Linked DNA regions of Homo sapiens: region 1 is linked to region 2. Evidence: promoter capture Hi-C in human tissues and cell types (Jung and others, 2019). All regions are on one chromosome and are shown on one strand. The core of a region is centred on a gene start or on the middle of the fragment in contact, and the rest is flanking DNA. Distances in the headings are between cores, read along the strand shown.

Region 1 (5,358 bases), core at 1,875-4,374, 77 kb after region 2:
TTACAGGCTGGGACCAAAACATCCATTTCTTTTCCTCCAAAGGTGTCACCTGACGGTAACTGGGGTCATGTCAGCATTTCCAGGAGGCATATTTATGTAGTGCTTTTATCAAGCAAGGCCAGTGGCCACGATCCCACAGCAGGCCTGGGTCAGGCAATTGAAGCATTACATCATCTCAGTTGAGTTGTTTTGGAAAGTGGAGCCAGAAGAAAAAGAGAAAGGGGCCAGGATGGTGGGAAGGAAAAAGCTCACGTACTGAGCCAGCCAGTAGATGCTAGATTCTGGGCCAAGTGCCTCACAGACATTATCTGATTTAATCTTTACAAGTGTCCTAAAAAGCAGGCATTGAGCTCTAATTGTACAGATGAGGAAACTAGTCAGAAGGGTTAAAGAGCTTTGTCTGAGGCCTATGGTTTTGCATATGTATGATACAGACCCAGATCTCTCTGACTTTGGAATCTGACCTTATTGCCCTATTTCTCTCTGCCTCTGTGTTTTCAGAGTCTAGTCTTGATCTCCCCATTTAACTTATATAGGCAAGCTTCTCTTCTCTGAGCCTCTTATTTGTTATCCTAGAACAACAATATTGCTTTCCTACTCTAGAGACTGGCAGGACATAAGGACAGGACATTTGAAAACATTTTCATCAATTAAACATGAGTGTATACTATTTTTATAAGTATAAATAAGAGCACCTAAAAAGGGGAAAACATATACACACAAATACACATATATATGCACATATGCAAACATATATACACACACACATAAATATACAAATAAAATTATTGCAGCAAATTCTTTCCTGAAGTTATTTATAAACCCCCACATCATTGTATGCTTTTTTTTTTTTTTTTTTGCCATGTTGGTGCTCCCTGTGTTTGCCTTTTTGGGAAAAATAATATAACTTTAATCATGTAACACTTTACCTTGAAAGGATCTATTTAACATCTCTTTCGGCATCCTAGTCTCTAATTGCATAATTGAAAGATTTATCTTCATGGTTTTGTGCAAACTGTAGAGTATTTCACGTGCTTTTTTAGTTTTTTTTCTTCTAAAATCAAAGCCAACGTCCTTAAGACCATAGTTCTCTACTTGCAGAGGTAGGAACATGGTCACTAGAGGTAGCCTGGGCCATTCACGGACACACTGTGTGATCATATTAGCTTTTGTATCAGACCAGTCTGGTGGCTATGTGCCAAAGGCAGATGTAGAAGCCAACTAGGAGGCTCTTGTTGTAACCAGGGCTGGAGGGATGAGGGCTTAACCTGGGTGGTGGTGATGAAAATAGAAAAGAGAGAATGGTTTCAAAACATTTTAAAGGTGGAATCAATGCAACTTGAATGGCTTGAATTTGGGGATGACTAGCGTCCTGGGGAACATGCTTTGAGATTCAATGTATTGAAAAAATTTGCATGATTACAGGCATAGAACCTAGTTATTGCATGGGATTCACTGGAAGCTTCATTTAGATTAAACATGAAAAGACTCCCAATGATTAAAGCCATCCCATAGTAAAATAACCTGTCTAGGTAGGTAATTGATTATTTGACTTTGGAAATGTTCAAAAAGGGTCTAAGTCACAATTTCTATGAAATTTTATGAAAATGGCTTGGGTATCATCTTTAAGAAAAACATGTTTCAACATTTTAGGGAAGAATATCCATAATAATTACAGCTGACTTATTTATCAACATAATAACTAACACTTACCAGGTGTCCATTGTGTGTCAGTTTCAAATGCTTAACACGGGTTAATCTTCACAACTACTCTATGCAGTGATACTAATATTATCCCCGTCTTACCAATAAGGAAGTTGAGATACAGAAACATTAAGGTACTTATCCAAGGTCATATTGCTGATAAGTGGGTAGAAACAAGATTATAACTTAGGCAGTCTGCCTCCACCAGACACAACTTAAAAGTCTCAATAGCAGAAAGAAAATAGTTCAGTATGTCATAGCACAGTCCTTCCCTTCCCCTCCCCCTTCCCCCTCCCCCTCCCCCTCTCCCCTCCCCTCCCCTCCCCTCCCCTCCCTTTCCTTTCCATTCCTTTCCTTTCCTTTCCTTTCCTTTCCTTTCCTTTCCTTTCCTTTCCTTTCCTTTTCCTTTCCTTTCCTTTCCTTTTCTTGAGACAGGGTCTTGCTCTGTCACCCAGGCTGGAGTGTGGTGGCACAATCTCAGCTCACTGCAGCCTCTGCCTTCCATCTCAGGTTCAAGGGATTCTCGTGCCTCAGCCTCCCAAGTAGCTGAGCTGCAGATGTACACCACCACACCTGGCTATTCTTTGTATTTTTAGTAGAGACAGGGTTTCGCCATGTTGGCAAGGCTGGTCTCGAACTCCTGACCTCAAGTGATTTGCTCACCTCAGCCTCCCAACATGCTGGGATTACAGGCATGAGCCACCATGCCCAGCCAGCACAGCCATTTTCTAGTATTAGGTTATTCTAGTATTATGTTATTAAACCTAGCAATCATGAAAACTATGTAGTAACAATGAAGAAGAAGGTTTAGAAATAACTTACCCATATACCACAATTATCACTATGTACAAAACCTACAGAGATATACAGAAAATGAAATGGAAGGGAATGGTATAGTGAAAGGAATACAGATGATCTGTTTTCTTTTCAACATTTTCCTCAAAATAGTAACACTACATCTATTCAGAAAATATAGTTGTAATTCAAAGCAGATAAAATGCACTTACACGGAAAAAAGCTGGAAGGAGATTGGATTTCTAAGAACTTTTCCAACAGAGAAATTCTATGATTCTGTTAGAGTGGGCTTTTTTATGGGCAAACTTGGTATCCAATATGAGTATGTGGATGAAGACAAATCTGTCATGAATGAAATGCAAAACCTCAACTGAAAACTTTTATTTTGATTTAACAGTCAATAATCCAAACTAAACACCAATCGATTAAGACAAATATGTTTCCGAGGCCTCACAATTCTGTATTATTAGTCACACATCCCCAACAAAGTTGCTAAACTTCCATAAATATGTTTTTAATGATCAGACAATATTTATCTAATGCATGCTATCTCTCACATTAAGTTGAAATTAAATGCACGATTTACTGTGTCATGTCCCTTCACGGCTTCAACAGTCCTCTCTTTTCTTCCCTTTTGAGCTCAGATAACAATTTGCAATGCAGCTGTATAACATCTGGTAGCCAAGAAATACTGCTGGAGAGGTTTTCAGTCTCAGAGTTTGATGGGTCCTGATACACAAACCATTTCTCATCAACTTTTCCTGGATGCAAAAATGCATCTCAGGAATATGTTCTTGGGAAATATCCATGTGTCTGACATTTTCCCCACATCTTAGCTGAGGAATACCCCCACAGTAAGTCAATATACTTTATTGCAGAAGAAAATAAGAGAATACATCTAGGTCTCACTGACTTTTTTCACTTACTAGCAACTACCTGACCCCAGAATAGTTGATCTAGGGGGAAGCACTGCTGTTTCTTAGGAGGGTCTATACAATTATGGTGAGATGGATAATAATATCATTCTGTCTTGATTTAAAGACATTTCCAATGATAAGACATGCTACTGATTTAATAAGAGCTCCTTGAGAAAAAGAGAGAAGCACTACATTAATGTACATGTCAATTGTAAGATATTCCAATTTCAGAAATGTTAAATAAAAAAGTATATCTCAAAATTTGGAAAATATAATAGCTAATATATCTAAATTGGCAAAATGTGTCTGTGTTTTTTTTAAGTTTCTTTTATACTCAAAATGAAGTAGTGAGTTAGATATTTTGATCTCTCTTTTACAGATGAGGAAATTGAGTCTCAGAGATTGAATCGATGGCAGAGAAGGGACTCGAACTAGCTCTTCCCAAGAATGTCTTCACATCAGAGAGAAATTCTTCCTTCCAAGCACTAGAACCTGGGGGGAGGTGGAAGGACACTAAACTTGGAGGCACAACAAGCCGAGTTTCTTCTCAAGATTTGGCCCCAATAGAGGCAGTGTCTGGGCTAGAAGCTAGTTTGCATGATTCCACAGTTATCCACAGGGACTGATATTTAAAATTACATCCCGTGTTCAAAGTTCATAAATTACTGATAAAAACAGCCTGTTGAAATTTCATTGAATAATTATAAGCTTAGTTCGCTGTCACTGCTCTAAGAGGATACTAACAGCCACCAGGTACCTACCATGTCCTGTATGCTACATTCTTAACACTTTACACACATTGTGTCAGGTTATAATCACAGTGAACCCATGAGGCAGGTGAATTGTTATAAGGACGGGGAACTTGAGGCACAAAGAAACTTGCTCAAGATTCAGAATTCAAATCCAGATTTTTCTAATTCCACGGCAGGGCTTTTAATAACTAAAATAACGAAATAAATTGTTATCAGGACACAGAAGAAAAAAACACAAAAGGCAAAAACTTCTACTCCTAGAGATTTGAGATCCATTTGGTGAGGTAAGATTAAAACATATATAACGATGAGAATAAAATGCCACCCACAAATATTATTACCCCATTTTGCAGACGAGTAAATAGAACCTAAGGCTGTAAAAATCAGTGAGATAGAATTCAAATCCAGGATTTCAAAGCTCTGCTCCAATTCTCTTTCTCTCTTTACATTGCATCAGCCATGCCATTTCATTTTTGAGAAGGAAGCCAGGTCCAAATGATATTCAATAACTGTCCCAATATGAAAGGTTTATCAAACTTTGATGATGTGACTGCACCCAGTGATTTATGTCTGAAATTCCAAGGATGAGCTGTGACAACTGAAAGGCTCTGTCCTTTAGATCCTCATATTTCCTCCGTCCTCATTGCTTCCTGTCTGGTACTCACTCACCCCTGATCATAAATATTGTCTGCCACTTTTATGATTATTGGTGGTTAGATATGATGAATTCTGATACTAGTCAACTGTGGAGGAGATATTAAATACATTATCTAAATTTCCCTTAATGCCTCATCCAATATGAATCAATATTGGTTTAATAATTAACATGTTTAAACATTTTTATGTATATTTCATGATGAGATGATCTATGTTTATTTTATGAAGATGAAATATTTAGCTCCCTGCCACTGAGGGTAAAGCCATTCCAACTTCTTAGAGCTGTCTCTTTAGCTTGCTCTGAGGCCATCGTTTCACATTCTGGGAGGACTGGCTGGTTCTCACCAACTGTGACCCGGTAGAGGATGCTGAGTTCATAATGAGAAGTTGAGAGCATTTGGAAAAAGGAAAGGCTTAATGCTAAATAGAGAGCTCTGAGAGGAGCCTGCTGGAATGGTGGTAGCAGCTTTGACCCCTGGCCCAGCTCTGCCTCAATCCTACTGCCCCAGCTTTGCCTCAATCCTCCTCTTCAG
Region 2 (5,278 bases), core at 2,210-4,709:
AGAGCACGCTTTTGAGTGAACTCGATTCTGACTTCTCCAGGGTCTCTCTTTCACAGGGCTTTACATTTCTCCTTCCCTGGAGTTTATGGGTCCTACTCTTCACATGGGAGATGCTTTATATGGGAGAACACAATTTGGTGTGGAGGTTCTCTTTTTTGGAAATGTAGCAAGCAGGAAAGGTTTCTGGATCTTTGTGTGCACATGTGTGTATAAGCACACCTATGCATGTGTGCTTGCATATGCTTCTGTGCCTGTAATATGTATTAATGTCTAGGGGTGAGATTCTAATTAATATAAAGAAATTAATTTGCCTGAAGTATTTGCACTGGTAGATGGGTGTACATTTTGCTCTCTGGAAACCAGTGCATTCCTTAATAAAAATCTTAGATACAGACCAGACACTTTGCTGGGTTCTGCCTACCAGTCACACTCAGTACTGGGTCCTTGCTTGTCGGTAATTCCCTAAAGACATTGGAGAAGGAATCTATGTTCTCTCTCTGTCTCTCTCTCAGTCCTCCCCCCACCACCGTGTGTGTGTGTGTGTGTGTGTGTGTGTGTGTGTGTGTGTGTGTGTGTGTGTGTGTGTCTTTCGGGAATAGTGATTGAGGCATTGGATCTTTTCTCTTCAGGGCCATGTTTCCAGATAGAAAAACCCTGAAATGCATCTCTGAAAATGTGAAGTTTGATGAGGGAAGACAAGCGATTGTCTTGGTAGGGGTCATGGTGGCAGGTTGGCAAGATAGGGGTGGGAGCAATATACAGTCCTAGAGTGTATATTGCTGGGAGGAGTGGAAAGGGTATTGATCTAGCTGATTGATAAGCCTAGATTCTAGTCCTGGGCATGCCACTAACCCACTACTGAATGTTGGGGAATTCTCATTCCCTCTTTAGGCCACAGAGTCCTGCCTTTCTGCTCTTTAATATTCCTTCCAGTTTCGATCGTCTGTGAATTAGGAAAGAGAGAAAATGAGGCAGTTCCCAAAAATGGGTCTCCTCCTTGGCCCTAGTACCCCCTACCCAAGATAATCCAGGGAGCTCTGCCCTGACATGAGTTTCCTGAAGGAGATTCTCTGTGGCTATGTGAAGGCTTCAGCCTGAGGTATCAGCCTCTGGACAGAGAATGGTATGTCTGCAAGTGCCTGCAGGTAGAACCCACCCACTAGGGCAGGTTCCTACAAATACATGTTTGCTTTTATCTCTCCCCAGAATATGAACACATGTGTGTGTGTGTGTGTGTGTGTGATTGATATATATATATATATATATATCTTCCTAGAATATATGTGTACATTTTTTAGGCCAAATATATTTCTACTTTTTTCCCCTAAGAGGGCTTTTCAGCGGCCCCTCCGTGCTGAGCTAGACAAGAGGCTGTGTCCCAGCGTCACAGCCCTTGTCTTCTCCTAGCCTCCCTGCCTGAGAGCAGAACGGCTGCCGCTTACCTTGAGAAAGTAACAGCTGCCGAGTCTGGAAGCCATGCTAACAGCAGTAAAACTCAGCATTTTTGCTGAGTAGGGCAAGCCTTTAAGAGGCAGCTGGGAATCAAATCAATGGCTGGCCCCAGAGCCCAAGCCCAACAGTACCAAGCCAGGGTGGCCAAGGGACCTACCTAAAGAGCCTCCCAGGAGATGGAGGAAAGAAGAAAGAGGGCCTTGACCCAAACTACCTTCCTGGCTGAGATTCCTCCACCGCCCCCCTGCCCTTGGCAGTATTTTGGAGCCAAGTGAGAGACGCGAGGTGCAAACCGACAGCAGTTTAAGTCAATTACTGCCACATTCTGTCATGGGTTCCACACTCACAGCCCCTTTTCAAATTGTAGATCTCCCTCAGTACTGAAACACTCTCTCTCTCTGTCTCCCTCTCTCTCGCTCTTGCTCTCTCTCTCTCCCTCTCCACCTCTCTGCCTTCTCTCAATATCCCCCTAACTCCAGGGGAGCCATGGAGAGGCATATTTAGGGAGAGACTCTCTGGGGGCTTCCCCGCCTGAAATGGGGAAAGAAAGACGAATCTGTCTTAGGAAAGTGCCCCATCCATCTCCTTCCATATCATCCACAGCCGCCCCAGATGAAATTTCCTCTGAGACCCTTTGCAACTGTGATGGATGAGCAAGTCCCCGAGGACGCTTTCTCCTTTCCCCTGAGGGGGATCCATGCAAACTTGCCAGATCCTCCCCAAAACCAACAGAAGCCGGAGGGGCTCTGTTGATTGCAAACGGGGATGCAGGGTAAATCCCTATCCCAGACTTTCCAAGCCCCAGATAAGGAGCCCACCGCTGACTTCCCCCTTTCTCTGTCACCCACTATCCAGTGTCTCCAAATTCCCATCAGAATCTTGGAGTCTGCCCAGTGTAGAATTTAAAGTGACAGCGTCTCATTTGCCTCGGGGGTTGGCCATGTCTCTTTCATATTAAGCTGTGGGTCCCAGTGTAGCAGGATTCCACCGTTTGGAGGAATTTTCCTTCAAGCGTACCAACATTGGGCTAAATAAGGTGCCATCTACAGCCCCATAATCCTCCCCAAACCCCAAGCCCAGAGCCCCAAGAGGAAGTCCACAGCGGGTTTCCCGGTGACTACGTGATCCTATAGTAAGGGTCCCATTCCGTGTAAGCTGGAGAGACCTAATTAAAAAGACACACGAGGGCACACATACAAACACATACGTACAAACATGCACACACACATCGCGCCGTAAGTAGGTTATAGGACCTCTCTCTCTTCACCCCTCCCTTACACACACGGACACACACACACACCACGAACACACGCATCAAACGCAAACGACGCCGCACACGCAAACACACTAGCACCACATCAAGTTCCCACCATGGTGCACACGTCGGGAGCGCGCGGGGACACACACGCCACTCACTCAAACCCGCAATTAGCCCTTTGAGCCCCAGGCACAGGAACCCCCTCCCTAGAACTGGAGAAGACTTGGAGGCGGCGGGGCGGCCAGGTGAAGAGCGGACAAGGGTGCCGGTAGGGGGAGGGGCAGAGGAGCGCGGGGACGCCCCGAATGCGGCCCGGGGCCGGGTCCAAGGGCAGCGGGGCTGCGGGGCGCTGCACCCGGCGCCGCCTTACCTGGAGTCAATGTCCGTCTTTGGCGGAGAGCTGCGGGAGGACGCTTTTTATTCGGCTCGGTGGGAACTTGGGAGAGCCCTGCGTGCAGCTCGCATTCCGGGCACGGCGCGGGGACTGCAGGCGTGGGGGTACCTGGCTCCTAGCAGCCTGGCTCATACTCAGCCGTAAAGTCCCCTTCGCTGGTCCCGAGGACAGGCATGAATCCCGGCTCCGGAAGGCGGTCACTACTCCCTCTGCCTCCCGGCTCTCTCGCTCTCGCTCTCGCTGTTGCTCGCTCGCTCTCTCCCTCTCTCGCGGGTTCGCTCGCCTGCGCTCTCCTCCTCCCCGCGCGCCAGATCAGTTTGCAGCCGTGGGGTCCGGGAGCGAGGCGGCTGGCGAATGGAGAGGGAAGTCCAAGTGCGCCGCGGTCTCCGGGCGGGGAGCGGCGGAGGCCGGGCTACGCCGGGGGAGGGACTTAGCCGGCGACGGCCGAAAATGAATGGGGGAGCGGCGGCCGGGGGGCGGGGAGGGAGGAGCTGAACGCCGGGGTTGCTTCCGAGGAGTGTTTTGTACATCTTTAGGCGGAGGAGGAGGAGAAGCGAGAGGAGGAGAGACGGGAGGCCGCCTCGAGGGAAGGGCGGCCCGGGTGGGCTGGGGCTGAGCCGTAGGGAGTTTCGTGGGTCTGGGGCGTGTAGGGTGTTGTGTCTATGCGCACGAGCATCCAAAGGGACCGCGCATACGCGCAAACCCGGAATCCTGGTGCCCTTAAGCGTGACTGTACTGTGTGTGTCGCGAGTACCTGAGTGTTTCTGGGGCGGCAGGTGTTTCCACGGCCGCGTGGATCCATCGAGTGTGGGTTTTGTCTCGGGAGTTGCCCGTGTGGGTCCGTTTGTGTCTGCGCGTCTCTCTGTGAGTGTTTGACACTGTTTGTTTCTCTCGGTGTGTAGGCGAGAGCCCACGTAACCTCCCAGAATGAAGCAAGAGCTTCTCTACGTAGGCAGGATGTAGGAGGGAGAAGCTGAGGGGACACGAAGTTCTCTGGAGACCACCAGAGGCGGGGAAGGGGCGAGGGTACAGGGACTAAGACATGAAAATAAAAAGCAAAATACTCTGCAATCAGCCTGAATGCAGGCTGGGGCTGCTAACATAGGGCCTCTTCCTGAAGCAGAAAATAAAGCCCTCGTATGATAATTCCCACACAGCGCACATTTGGTATGTTTGTTTACTTTGCTTCCCTTCTGATTTAAACCAAATCAGCAATGCAGATCCCTAGTCCCCTGAAGATTAGGCAAGAATAGAAAGCATTAAGGCTACCAGATGGAGGGGCAGGAAGTCATAGGAAAAGGTGTTGGAATATGTAAAAGAGCCAGATTCAGTAGAAGTGCAGGCTCCAGAGAGGTTGGAGTCCTGTAGCTGTCTGGTCTTGGTGAAATCACTTACCCCTTAAGCCTCAATTCCTTGTCTGTTTAATAGAATAATAATATATCTACCCATCTAATAGGGTTGATGTGGAATTGTAATGAGTTAATATATGCAAAGGCACTTAGACTGCTCATGAGTTAATGTATGCAAAGGCACTTAGACTGCTCCCTGACACCTAGTGAGTGCTCAGTGCATGTTGTCTGCTTTTATGATTGCCATTGTATGTTTTTTGTTTGTTTTTTAATTCAAAGGATGATAAGAGAGAGATGTGACCACCAGGGAGGCCTAGAACAATCTAGGAGCCAGTGAACTAATTGGAGGAAGAGGAGTCTTGAAACAAAATGGAAGAGAAATGTTTGAGTGATGAACTGGGAACTCGGGAAAAATTATTTAATCGACAAAGAGAAAGGGAGAAAGAGAGGAGAAGACATCGAGCTAGCCAGAATGATCCTGGGTCTCAGAAGGTCAGGACTGAGGGGAGAGGAAAGGGAGAGGAGGAGCAGCCAGTGCAGAGCTTCTCAGCCTTCACTGGAATCCCAATGAGGAGGAGTCAGCACCACGGACAGCTCTCCAGCCACAAACCCAGTCAGCGATTTCTATTTTCGCCTGGTGGAAATTTCTCCCTTTTTTCTTGGGCAACTTTCTCTTTCCCTTGGCTTCTGGTCCAGGTTCAGGTCTTGAACACAGGTTCCCCAGGTCAGTTCTGACTTTGATTCTGACCACGAAGAAATACGCCCACCACACACACTCCTTCTCCCACCCACCGCGGTATGAAACCCCAGGTCACTATCTCTTGC

The links. The method cuts DNA at HindIII sites, captures the fragments that hold promoters and counts their contacts. A contact is called where the count stands out against the background at its distance.
Region 1: a fragment that was not itself captured here is called in contact with the fragment with the promoter of BRINP1 in region 2 in 2 of the 25 tissues and cell types used here (H1 embryonic stem cells and stomach).

The regions. Positions count from the first base shown.
Region 1 is chr9:119,443,235-119,448,592 of GRCh38, forward strand. All of the region lies in intron 1 of LOC105376250 (a long non-coding RNA gene), which reads right to left. Among named protein-coding and RNA genes, the nearest start is that of BRINP1, 76 kb to the left of the region's middle. The HindIII fragment of the contact is 4,247 bases long and covers 1,002-5,248 here.
Region 2 is chr9:119,365,976-119,371,253 of GRCh38, forward strand. It overlaps BRINP1 (BMP/retinoic acid inducible neural specific 1), which reads right to left and starts at 3,460. Exons shown (of 8, transcript NM_014618.3): 1 at 3,081-3,460. RefSeq lists enhancers at 2,859-3,380, 3,381-3,903, 3,904-4,424. The HindIII fragment of the contact is 11,628 bases long and covers 1-5,278 here.